2 separate regions of the Homo sapiens genome follow, and region 1 is linked to region 2. The links are contacts of gene promoters, found by promoter capture Hi-C in blood cells and fetal thymus (Javierre and others, 2016). All regions are on one chromosome and are shown on one strand. Each heading gives the region's core, a stretch centred on a gene start or on the middle of the fragment in contact. The rest is flanking DNA. Distances are from core to core; before and after follow the strand shown.

Evidence for each region. Contacts are between HindIII fragments. The CHiCAGO score rates a contact against its expected background, and 5 or more counts as called.
Region 1: a contact is called between a fragment that was not itself captured here and the fragment with the promoter of MSI2 in region 2, in 9 of 17 cell types (naive CD8 T cells, M1 macrophages, total B cells and 6 more). The highest score is 11.1, in naive CD8 T cells.

The regions. Positions count from the first base shown.
Region 1 is chr17:57,767,710-57,774,415 of GRCh38, reverse strand. No RefSeq gene overlaps it. Among named protein-coding and RNA genes, the nearest start is that of CCDC182, 26 kb to the right of the region's middle. The HindIII fragment of the contact is 972 bases long and covers 4,933-5,904 here.
Region 2 is chr17:57,255,273-57,261,916 of GRCh38, reverse strand. It overlaps MSI2 (musashi RNA binding protein 2), which reads right to left and starts at 5,394. Exons shown (of 14, transcript NM_138962.4): 1 at 5,113-5,394; 2 at 4,779-4,819; 3 at 4,370-4,451; 4 at 3,563-3,647. The coding sequence starts at 5,174. LOC101927510 (a long non-coding RNA gene) reads left to right here and starts at 4,921. Exons shown (of 3, transcript XR_007065860.1): 1 at 4,921-4,975. RefSeq lists enhancers at 1,632-2,155, 3,142-3,231 and a silencer at 5,210-5,839. The HindIII fragment of the contact is 32,545 bases long and covers 1,875-6,644 here.

The DNA.
Region 1 (6,706 bases), core at 4,169-6,668, 510 kb before region 2:
TGTGTGCCAATTATCAGGCACTGGCAACCTCTCCAGAGCTGGTAACTTTAGATCAGTCTTCACATCTTTTTCCCAGTGTCTCTACAATCAATAGGCAGACATCACCCGGGGCTGGCCACTGGGCAATCCAGATCTGATGGTTCAGCCCTTCCAAACATAACCTAATTCCCCTCTCTATTTTTAAGGATAAAAATCTATGCATAAAGCACCCAAATGATTCAAAGGGCATGGTGTAGCTTATCCATTTTTTTCCCCTCATATCTTCAGCTTGGCATTTCTTTAAAACAATGAAACTATTTTTTTCCTTAGATATGAAACATGGCCTCAGAGACCCTGACTTGAAGTCAGAAGATCTAGACTCTCTTGAGGTGTCTGTAAAGAGCTCACCCAGGCTGTAAACAATTCTCTCCCTGAGGTCTCTCCCTTGTGTGACCTGAGAGCAGGTTGAGTGTTCATTTCTCAGGAATTTGCAAGAAAGAAAGTGTTTATGCTAGAAGAAGCCTTTCATATTCTAAAATTGCCGGCTATGCCAGTCTAAAATTGCCAGACTATGTTTTCTGGGGCAAGGTACCTGGATCACATTGTTCAGGGTGGCTAATGTACTTCGGAGCTTGCTATTTAACTTGTTTTTGCTGAAGTCTGTAGACTTATTTAGACACAAAACCTTGAAGAAACCTACTTCCCAATTCCCAAGCGTATGCCTCATTTCCTTCCTCTCCTGGTCAACCCAGACTCTTGTCAGGACGCCTTCTCATCAATCTTAAAACTCTGAAATGTAGAGTGCAAAGCTCTTTTCTTCCCTTTTAAAAACAGAGTTTATTTTTCATTCTCTCTATAAGTCATGCCAGTTTAATATAAAAAATGGAAAATATAAAGTAACCAGGTAAATGAATGAGTTGGGCTGGCTTGGTGGGGTGCAGACAGAAAGCAACTCTACTCTTCCCCCGACTTGCCCTGCACACTGGCTCTGTGGATTCATTTTTTCTTTCTCTTGCTTTTTGGATACTCCCAGGTATTAATTAAGAGTCTTGCTCCTTCAGGTAATAAAATGTCAAGTCCCAGTCTCATATCAAACTCTCATGCAGTTTATAACTTCTCCCCTTGCTGAGCTTGGCCCGTGGGCACAGGCATGTATGCAGTTGCCTCTTCTCTGTTTTCTTCCTCGCGCCCCCTCTCAGTAGTCGGCTTCTGCCACCTGGGCCAGTGTGGGAGGAAGATGGGGGAGAGGCTTAGGGGGCAAGCAAAGTCTTGGTTGACTGGAACAGTTGTAACCTGGTATCCTGAGGGTGTGTTTCTCCTGTGTGTGCTCTTTAGGGTTCTTTGGAGACACCATCTCCCCACTGGCTGAGGATTTTCTTGGACGGTGCTTCCTCCAGCTGACTCCATAAGAGCGCTAATTTACAGCAGTCAGCTCCTCTGTTGTGGTCGCCTCACTTCTCCAGCAGGGAGCACTCACTTCTAGGGGATCCATATCTGACCTATAAGCAGGCATTTTTCTCAGGGGAAGTCCACGTCTGGTCCACGGGAAGCGCACCTGTATCCTCGCACCACCAAACCTAACAAGTGCAGTGCTTCCTGCCCCTGCCCTGCCTCTTGGCTGCCCATCCATGCAGGCCATCCCAGCTGGCCCTCTGTCTTTGATTTTGGAGCATGAGTCAGGTTGCATCCCTGCATCCTTCAAATTCTAGGGGCATAGAGCAAATCCTTTGAGTGGTTCTAAGTGCCCCTGCCTTTGTATTCAACAACTAACTCTCTCCCTCTTTAAAGAAATCTTTACTCTCAATCTCTTCATCCTGATTCATGCATTCACAGCCTTCTCTTAAAACAATCAATGATGTTCGAGTGCTGACTGAACTGGAGACCCTGCCATGCTGGCCCAGCATCCTGCTTTACTCTGCACCCATTATTTTCTACTTTCAGTAGAAATAATGTCTTGTCTCAGTAATACTGAGACAAGAATCCCATTTTAACATCTAGCGCAGTAGTTGTAGTAGGTTTTTTATGGCTCCAGATTCATTTCAATCCAGGATTATGACCCTTTGCAATACAGCTTTGCAACTCCTCCCATCCAGAGGAGACATCTGCTTGTCTACTCCTTGCAATTTCATTGGCTTTGAGACCAGCTTTGTCCACATAGAAAGGGGCAGAAAGCAAAGCTAGGCAACTTCTGAGGCTAGGGCTTATGAGTCATTGCTGCTTCCACCTTTGCTCTCCTCTAGGAACATTGCCCTGAGACAGACATCCATGAAGAAGCCTGGGATGAAAGACCACATGGAGAGAAAGGCCCACCATCATTCTGCACCAACTACCAACGGCGTAAGGGAGGTTGACTTGGATCTCCCACCCCAGTTGACTCTCCAGCTGAAAGCAACTGCCTGAGCCCAAACAAAACCTGCTGAGGAACCTCCCTGCTAGCAAATGGAATCAGGAGAAATAATAAATAGTTCTGTTGTTTTAAGTCACCAACTCACAAACGGAGTATAAGAAATAATCAATGGATGTAGTTTTAAGTCTCTATGTGTTGGGATGGTTTGATATAACAATAGGTAACTGAAACAGTAGAAGATTAGAAAGAGGAAAAATAATCACCCATAATCCCATCACATAAAGATGACTGCTCTTTTTTTTTTTTTTTTTTTTTGAGATGAAGTCCACTCTGCCACCCAGGCTGGAGTGCAGTGGCACAATCTTGGCTCACTGCAACCTCTGCTTCCTGGGTTCAAGTGATTCTCCTGCCTCAGCCTGCAGAGTAGCTGGGACTAAGGCGTGTGCGACCATGCCCGGCTAATTTTTTTTTTTTTGTGTGTGTGTTTTTATTAGAGACGGGTTTTCACTATGTTGGCCAGGCTGGTCTCAAACTCCTGACTTCAGGCGATCCACCTGCCTCAGCCTCCCAAAGTGCTGAGATTACAGGCGTGAACCACCATGCCTGGCCAAAGATGACTGTTCTTAACATCCGTAAGTTTTTCCTTTCGCTCTCTTTTTTTTCTACACATATTTTTCAACATTTTATTCTGAAAATTTTCAAACACATAAAGTGAACATTCCATACCCACTACTTAGATTCTACAATTATCTTATTTTTAGTGCATTTCAAAGCAATGAACATCAGTACCCTTCACCTATAAATACTTTAGCATTCTGGATATGTTTTAAGTAGTTGTAATAATAAAATGCCTAATATGTACTTTTATATCCTGCTTCATTCAATTATTTTGATATTATTAACACGCTTGAATGTTAAACTCTTTGTGAAATTTACTTTTAATGACTGATAATGTACAATGAAGCAGGTATACTGTCTTTTTTTTTTCTATTTCTGATTGTTAGATAGCTATGATTTTTCTACCTTCGTATCTGTTAATATAAGTTATACTTCAAATACCCTCATTTCCAGGTACAGAAAAAAGGCCAGTGGGTTTACATGACTCATCTGATTTGCTCTGGGATAAAAGGCAGTGTGTTAAATCTTGTTAAGTAGAATATTTTCTCTTGCAGGAGAACATGTGTCTTGGCATCAAAGAGAGCTAGTTCCATCACTTTTCAGTTTTGTGACCTTGATCAAACTCCACAGCCTCTTTAATCTTGCTTTTCCTCATCTATGAAATGGGAGTAGTAATTGTAGGTACCTCAGCTAAAGAATCAGAATGAGATAATTCACATAAAACTCCTAGGACACTGCCTGACACATGTCTTCATTATCACCATTAATATTCACATCCACGAAGTTTTAGAAACAAAGGTATTTGCACATACCAATGTATTGTAAGTGGAAGTAAAATTAAACAAAGCTTAATTCACAAACAATGCGAAAGCCAAATGTAATCAAGAAAATTCATGAGCAGTGCACTTTGATAGAACCCAAAACAATGCCTTCCCATTGATATCCAGACAACCAGGGCAGACATTTGACTGGCATGCAAGGGCACAGCTATTCTGGTTGTTTCCATCAGGTGTCCATTCTGGTTGGTCAGTGACTGTGCTTTTCTAGTTGTTACAATTTTTGGGCCCCACCTACCAATAAAACCGAAAGCAGACAGAGAGCTAGCTCTTAGTCCTTGCTAATATTTACTTTGAAGAGGAAAATGATGCCACCTTTGAAGTTCTCCATAGGAGTTGCCTCTGACACTAGGGAGAAGACCTGAGCAAGGCTTATGAGTTGAGTCCCAGAGCCAATGTCAGATCATGTCTAAGGAATCACCTCACCGGCCAAATCTGGCAGTCTGTGTGCAAGAATGAGCATCACAAAAGGGGTCATAGGTAGGGAGACAAGGTGATTGGCAAGTCTGGGAACAGGCTAAGGAGACGGGGTCTCAGTCAACATGGGAGATTGTTTCTGTTGAGCCAAGGATAGAGGTGGATCACATGGGCAGGAAAGCTCCTCTTAAGGGGCCAGGCTGGGAAGGACTGCTGCATGTTGCTTTCCTCATGCCCACTGGACTCTGATGATAAATCTTGACGATCTCATCAAGGTCATGGTCTTCATTATAGTCATGATCATCATTATCATCATGAACAAAGGCATCCTAAAATGAGGGAGAGCAATGAAGTTCTTTGAAGGACTAGGAGACCCCTGGGGGCAATCTTACCACCTGGATTACATTTGGCTATTTCCTTACCCTCTTCTTTCTCTTAAGGAAAGAAACATTCTGGCCCCAATAGCTCTGCTGAATTTTCTCCTTAGAGAGTAGTAGAAAGCCTCTTTCCAATTAGTCCACTAAGATGAGAATTATCTCCCACCACTTCTCCATCCCCTTTGTCCTATAAACAAGGGAGAGAATCAGCACAAGAGCCATGAACTCAAGATGGGATCCATGTACAAGACTAACTCACATTTTGCTCATTGTTAAAAAGGTGGAAATGCTTCCCATCTTTCATTGTATTCTCAAAATTTTTGACAACTTGATCAAGTCTATTACGATTCCCAAAGCTTTGAGGCTTAAGTAGCAAGAAACCCCAAACTTTCCAGAGATATTTACTGCTCTCGATTCAGAACTTTTTCTTGCTTTTGACTCAGATTATTCAGAGAACAGAGTGGGGGTGGGTTAGGAAAGAGAGAGATCAATGTAAGTGTTGAGGCTGATGGCTAATGGCCTTTAGATTGCAAAGATTGGGTAAACAGATTTAGCACACTGATTCAACATATTAATTGTTTGTTAACCTTTGCATAACCTTTAGGAAGCCTCTGAATGTGTGGATTTAAAACCCAAAGTACACTCAAGGTATTCCCACAGCACAACCCACTTTTACAAGGTGTTAAAACTCATTAATTTTCTGTTGAAGCTGGGCAGGAAAGGGGGGTTTGGGGGAACAGAGCATACTAAATAGAGAACTAATCAAGCAAATTAATGTATGCAGAAGGCTCTCTCCCAGGCTTGCAGAAATATCCATTTGTTACCTATATAAACTATAATTACACAAAATGCAAGTGATGGCGAGGTAGAGTGTGATTTAAGGGTTGAGAAAGCAAACATCATAACAATAGCGTAATCCTAATAGCCATCATCCCTCTAATAATGTTGGCCCTTGGCTAACGTCCTCGTTTAGGGATCTCCGAGCATGTTAGCCACATTAATTAATCCTCTCGCTGTATGGCTGTGAGGGTTGCTCAGAGCCATTACCCCCTCACACCTCAGGCGAGAGAGAGGACATCAGAGCTGGGAAGCTGGGAAGAGGTTGTGGAATCCCATTCCCCACCCCACTCTCCTTCCCCTGTGCTCAAGCAAGCTCCAAGCTGAAAGCCAGCTCTAGACTGGCAGGTCATGGCTTTGGTTCTATGATGCTTGAACAAGAAGAATGGATAGCCCATGGTGTCCATTTAGTAACTGAACCATACAAACAAATACTCTTCTGGTAGGGAGAAACCCTTAGAGGCCGTCTGGTCCACCTCAACGTCTGAAAGCTTTAAACTTCCTCCAAAGACCATTGTCTACCCTGTCCTTCAAGTACTGGAGAAACAGATTGCTGATTCTTTGGGTCTCCTGGGCTTCTCTGTTGTGATGCCTGGGACTGATGTTCTCTCTTTCAGTTAAGACCCATGGACTGCAACCCCAGCTGAATTAAGGCTGTAAGTTCTCCCCCAAAGGAAGAGAGTCATTTTAACACTTTACACCGTCTCACACCAGTCTCTCCAAAGCTAATGGCTATAGAATTAGCGATCATCAGATTATTTTTACTGAAGACGGGCCTTTGGAGTCTCCCCCAACTGATCTAGCCCCAGAATATGAGCGAACTTGCTCTGTAAATTGTCTCTGCAATCTTCCCTAATTGGCCATTCATCTTGATGTCAATCCACTTTTTGGAATGAACCGAACAAGGGCTTGGGCCTCTTTTCCTGTGCGGACATGCTGAGCAGTCCCCGAAGTCCCTTCCCTGCAGCGGCGTTCCCTGTCAATCCCTTTCTTTCTTGCCCTGGGGCCCTGTCTCTTCCTTTCTTCTCCTCTGTCCACTACCTTCTCCGATCAGTTGCATAAAACCAAGCTCAGCCACTCTAGCTGTGTGACTTTGAGAATATTTCTCAGCCGCTTTCTGCCTCAGTTTCATCTCCTGCAAAACAAAATGTTTGGACAAGATGACTTCCCAGGTTGTTTCCAGGACACAGAGTAAGAGGTGAGATAATGCTTGCATCCCTGCCCCACCGGCGGTGGGGGGCGCTGTAGAAATGAGAACCCTGCTCTCCCCTGTACAAGGGTGGTAGGAAGAGGTG
Region 2 (6,644 bases), core at 4,145-6,644:
GTGTGTGATGCTCTTAATAAACCAGATCTCATGTAATTCTTATTTAGGCAAGGGCTTCTTCTTCCAGACACTGAATATTAAATGGTATCTACATCTAATTTGCTATGCGTGGCTGGGAGAAAAGATGGGAGCATCATTATCATTGGGAAAAAAATCATAACCTGAAAATTAAATGTAAGTATTCTCTAGCAGTAGGTAATTGGATGGTATTTCTTCTCCCTGATGATAACTAAACAACACAGGAGGGAAAGGAGCTTCCAAAAATTTTTTAAATCAACAACATCCAAAAACTCCCCACAGACATCCAACACAGTGCTCTGCTTGAGTTAATTAATTCATTTTAGCAAAAGTAAAGTTACCCAGGATTAACCAAAAAGATCATCTGTTCTGTAGCTATACCTCAAAAGATAAAAAATAATTTTTTGAAGTAAAGAAAATGAAGCATGTGAGCTAAATCCACCTGGATTTTAAAAACAACAGGGAGTAAAAATCTATAAGCAACCTAAACCCAAATTAGAAAAGAAATCCCATCATGGGGAGGGCACCAAAAAAAAAAAAAAGTTACTGAATACAAGAAGTAGTCAGAATCTAGTGCAACAAGTAGGGAATTCCCCTACCCCAACCTCAATCCGAGTGGAAAAACATCCTCCAGTCCAAATCACACACTTGCAAAACGCATGATGCTCAATCAGGGTCTAGCTGTACAGCTCAGAACAGTTCTCCTGGAAGCATGTGAATCTAACAGGCTGATGTGAGGGAGGAAAAAAGTGACTGCACAGATAAAAAGAGGAGGAAAGAAATGTGAAAATATTCCCGTTGTCGGTTTTCATTGAATTTCTAAATGTCACAAATCTTTGGGTAAAAATGTAACACAGATAGTATAAACATGCTACCAGTTATTTATTTCCAGGCTTTGGCTTTCATATTAAAATGTTTTCCTTTTAAAAAGTAAATCTGAGCTTTGTTTTCACTTCTGCCATGAGAAGGAGCAGGGGAGAAAAGAGTAATGCTGTGGAGGAAAGTAGGGAGGTGGGGGTGGGGAGTGGGAAGCACGGAGGATAGTTCATTTGTTCCCTGACTTACATCACCTAGGGTCCCAGCCAGAAAGACATATGAGGATTTCCTGCTGTTATTACGGGGGCTTAAAGACCTAATAAAAGTCTGCATTGCATTCCCTACCTTTAAACATCACCTGAGAAATGAGAGATTACTTTTCAAAAACTAAAATAGACAAAAATCTCTGATCTAGAAAACTACCCTTTCATAAAGATTAACATTACTGCATCTACAGGTGTGTCCAGCACTGACTAGCGCTTGTCTACAAGAGAAATACAACAGGTGTGGATTTTCCATTCTGTTGACGTACGTAAGACAGAGGTGTCTTTTTATAAATACTCCCCAGAGGGTGTTTTTTTTAGTTGGCCGGCACACAATTGCAATCAGAAATCACCTTGTTTATGGGGTAACAGGTGTGGGGTATGTTGAGGGAGGTGCCAGGAGCTGGAAGAAGTAAGGTGCAATGAAGAAAGTGAAGTACTAAAGAAAATTTAAATCACAAAACGAAAAAGCCAATTCAGAACTCCTGGATGGTGTGTGGCCGTATCAGAGCATTATATCATGATCGAAGTTCCTCAGTGTGCAAAGTTTACACGCTGAGATCTCTGAAGGAGAGGAAGGGTCAAGTTAAGCATGGCAAATCCCAACCTTTTGCACATCCCTGTCAACTATTTTTTAAAAAACAAACAAAAAAGAAAACTACCAAAAATTAAAACATTAGTTAGTTAGGTACAGCTCTACTTACTGTATCTACAAGTCCTCTAGGAAAAGACTAGGGTACTATTTTGGATGTGAATGGCCGTTACCTAAACAAAGCTTTTAAGGTAACAGTAAACAAGATCCTCGTTTCCATGTCAATAAACCAACCGCTTCTGCCTCCTGCACTGAACGTTGAAACAAAGTCAAAAGCTAGGTTACACTAAATAATAGTGACCAAAACATGTCTATAAACAATCAGAGAGGGAAACTGCAGGCTTTGCACCTGATACAGAGGAATATGACCCACCAGCCACCACAGAAACCAAATACTGTTTCTCCCACCCAGGTAGCAAGAGGGGGTGGATGATAAATTCCCAAATTTGCCTTGAAAAGATTTTCCTCTTTAATTTCACTAGCTTTTTGAAATGGCTAGCCACGAAATCAAGGAGAGAAAAATTTTTCAGACATCTGTTATCATCCTACAAATCATTTCTGAAATTAAATTATCTAAAAGTACAAAAGGCTGGGCTGCATGCAAGCTATGACAAGTCCAGGACAATTAATAAAGCAACTAAGAGTGTAGGTGGGTTTCTTTCTTAGGAGAAGGCACGCATTCCTGATCTCTTTGATCAGAGAAAGAGGGTGAATTTGCAAAATCAATTCAAGTGCACCGAAGGTTGCCAGGTTTCTTTATTTGCTTTCCTTCTCTTCCATTCAATGTTAAAGCCAAAAGGGGCTTGAAAGATCACCTTGGTCCACTTATTTTACAGAAGAGGAAATTGAGACCCAGAGGTAGGGAATGTCTTGCTCACTTTCATAAGAGGCGGATGGAAGTAGAGCCCCATTTCTGGCCTTGTCCCACTACCCCATCACAGAGGAGTGAAGTTCCATGCAACCCAGCACTACAGCCCAATGTCATCTTAAGGCCTCTGTTTGGGGCAGATATATATTAATAAAAACCGTGGGGAAACTCTGGTAGACATAAAGGGAAGGGAGGAGAGGCAGGAAGCCCACACAGGGGCTAAATAAAACACTGCACACTCCCCCTCCCATTAAATGTATTGTTATATACAGACACTCTTTCTTCCCTTCCCCTTCTGACCTCTGCCTGGAGACTCTTCCCCCTTCTACTCTGGATTTTTAAAACTTGTGATGTATAAAAGTACCCATACTCAAATGAAAGGATCTGAGAAAGAAAAGGAAGGAAAAAAAAATCACTTTGAAACCCCCAGGCCTTATCAGCCTTAGATTTCATGCCATCTGGAGTCACCCCAGTGGATGCCCAGCTCAGCTCCGCCAGCGTCCCCTTCCCTTCCCAAAGCACATTCCAAATCCCAAGTGCCCCAAGAGAAACCTGTTGCCTGGACCTGTAATTAGCGCCCTCTCCCCTCCTTCCCACTGCTGTCCCCCTTGGCCACAAAGCAGGCTGTGCCTTCTCAAAGCTGATCCCCACAGCCACAGTTGGTAACGCGTGCTGTGCTTGGCTGACAAAGAAAAGTTGCATTTGCTCTCTGGTGGAGTTTCTCTGCACAGTCCCCAGGCCGGGAAGGCAGACTCTCCAGGAGCCGAACCCTCTCCTCCCCAAGCCTAACCTTGGCAGCCTCTGAAGCTGCAATGGGACAGGCTCTAAAAAGAAAACCCCAAAGCCAGCCACAGCAGCAAACTTTTGAGCCAACTCGCTAGCTCAGTTTAAAACTACCCAGTTCTAGCACAGAAGCAAAAGAAGGCACTGTCCCTTTAAATGGGGCTGTCAATGCCCAGATCGTTCCTGAAAAGGGGCGAACAACAACAACAAAAAGCAACCTACCGTCTTGGAATCTAACTCATGGTGGGGCTGACCTAATACTTTATCTACACTTGCTGGGTCTGCGAACGTGACGAAACCGAAGCCTCTGAAAGGAGACAAAGAGGGAGAAAAACAAACAAGAAAATGTGACACCATTGAAAGCAACCAGGAGTGAGACCTAAGGCTGAATGAGGAGCAAAAGTTGCCCCCCACGCACCCCCACCTCCCACTCCCCTCCTCCAATTCCCCTCCTGCCTACAGCCCTCCACCTCGCAAGAAAAAACATCAAGGTTAACGGGGGAAGTGGAACGGGGGCAGGGAGGGTGGAGGTAACTTGGAAAATGCTGGTGCCTCCACTCTTTGGCCACCTCAGTTTCCTCTCCTCCTCCCCTTCCCTTTCTTAACGCTTTGTTTTATTCCGAAGAAAGCCCGGCACTTAGAAGAGATTTACCACCATCTTTCTAAGAGGGATCTTAAGAGTTTGGGGAGCTGGGAGTGTGGGGGAAACACACATTAAGATCAAAAGAAAAAAAAAAACTATGCGAAAGTAAATGAAGCTGAATGTCATTTTAAACAGAGAAAAAGAAGCGACGGGAAAATGACTTAAAAGCAGAGAGATGGGTATCTCTGTATCCAGAGTTCAGCTCCAATTAACAATAACCTCTGGGGTTACTAGGGGGCGGTGGGGGTGGTATAGAGCGCCGTTCGAGATCAGCCACGCGCCTGAGCCCCATTCTAATCCGCTTAGCTACTTCCGAAGACACCTCCAAAAATAAAACTTAAACTTTGTTCTAAAATAAAGACAAAATCCAGAAGGGAATGGTTTACCTGGAGCGTTTCGTAGTGGGATCTCTCATGACCATACATTCTCTAATTTCTCCAAATTTGCTAAAATAGTCTCTAAGGCTATCTGTAGAGAGAGAAAGAGAGAGATGGGGGGGGGAGAGAAGGTGTGGAAAAAAAAAGCAATGCAAATTTTGATCAAGGACAAAATCCAAAAGTAGTTTTCTGTTGTTATTCTGTTTTGTTTTTGCATTTTTTGCACACGCGGGGGAAATTCGGCAACAGAGGTCGCATAGAGGGCTCAGAAAGGATTTGCTATTTAAAAAAAATAACCTTGCACAGGAGAAGTGGGGAGCCAATGGCGGGGGGGGGGGGGCTCCTACACCGGGATAACAAAGAGCAATAAAGAAGCCAAGAAGGGGGGGACCCAGGCGTCCCCCCCTCCCTCCCTTACCTGGTGAGGTCTGCCAGCTCAGTCCACCGATAAACATTTTACTAGAGGGAGAAAACATAACAGAAGTGAGCACCGATGTCAGATCGGCCATTTTGACGTGTAACTTACAAAAGCTAAAAGGAAAGCGGGGGGGAGCGAGCGAGCGAGAGCCGGGAGGTGGGGTGGGGGAGAAGGTGACGGCGAAATGCAATCCAAAGGTGTGTAACTTCCACGGGGGGGGCGCGCGGGAGAGGCGGGGGGGCGCGGGAGATGCCCGGCTCCGCGCACCGCCGTCCCCGCCGCTGCAAGGAGAGCGAGCCCAAGGCGGCGCGGTGGGCAGCGGCTGGAAACTTACCCGGGGTCGTGCTGGGAGTCGTTGGCGCTGCCCGAGGTGCCTTGGCTCCCATTTGCCTCCATATCTGAGCCCCCCCGCCCCCCCACCCCCAAAAAACCAAGCCCCACAGCGATCGGAGCGGAGCGGCGGCCGGCTCCGAGCCCCGAGATCTCCGCTCCCTCCTCCCCCTCCTCCTCCCCCCCGCCCGGGCTCCTCCGAATCTCTCTGCGAGCGGCGGAGCCGGGGCAGCGGCGAGAGCCGTCACACGTGGGCTCGGCTTAGCTCAGCCCCGCTGCCTCGCACACCCCCCCGTCCCCGCCCCCCCGGCCCATCCCCACCTCTCCCCCTCCTCCTCCCCACCCCCATCTCCTCCTCCTCCTCCCCCTCCTCCCCGGCGCACGTGGGGCGGAGTTCTAGAACGTCGTGTAACCAATGCCGGTGACGTCACGCACCCCCGTGCGGCCCCCGCCTGCCCGCGCGCGCACACTCGGCCCCCCACGGCCGGACCCACAAGGGTGGCGCGCGAACCCCGCGGGCGGAGGGGACCCCGCCTCCGGGCCGGCAGGGCGCAGGGCGAGGGGGAGCGCACCCCGACTTCCCTGGATCACATGGGCTGCGGGGGGCGGGTGGATCGGGGGAGGGGAGGCGCGGGGAGCTTGCTGCGGCTCCTCACCCGGACCTGGGAGAAGACGCCCCCCACCCTCTCTAGTTCGCCCTCTCCATTCAAGTTTGCCGGCCCCTGCCGCCGAGATCCGGGAATGGCACCAGCCGCCCGCCCTCCGCTGTGCCCTGTTTCCAGCCACCGCTCAGAAATTTAGGTCAAGGACGTCGGGAGCAAACCCACACCCTGGCGCTCCTTTGGCGGCCCCCGAGACGCCCCAGGATCGGGGGGCTTCAGGATGGCGGAGACCCTCCTGCACAAACACCAGCCACAAGTTTTATTTTCCTTTTGCGCTGGAAGTTCTCTCTGGCTCTGGCTCCACACCGGCACGTCTTGCGCGGTTCCCCGCCCTTCCCCAGTAGAGGTACCAATCCGTGCCCGGGAAAGGTTATTTTGGAACTTTGAGAAACTGACGCGATTCCAGTGGCGAGAAAGTGCCGAAGAAAGGGTTTCCGCGTTAATCATACAGTGTTTTAAAAATGTAATAAGATAGGTTATAGGAGTCAAGGTCACATGATTGAGGTTCAAAGCAAATGTTTGTATATAACGAGAAGTACTTTTGGGGTGTCTCTGGGATGGATGGGAAGGGTGGTTATTTCAGGAAACCCCTGTGTAATCCGTTCGTTATATATTTTATTTCTCACCCAGCCTTTGTATGCCAGGATAGTAAAGTGCATGATACTGAAATAGCCCAAGACCCCTCACGACCTGCAGAGGTAGCTAGGGTGGCAGAAGGCTTCAGAATCACTCCCACCTTAGCAGCAGTAGTATTGTGCAGCACGGGTTCTGGCATACAGTAGGTGCTTAATAAATGCGGTTTCATACCTTCATGCACTGAAAACTCCAAAAAGACAATGTCTGTAGCCTTCCAAAGGCATCGCATGAAAGTTTC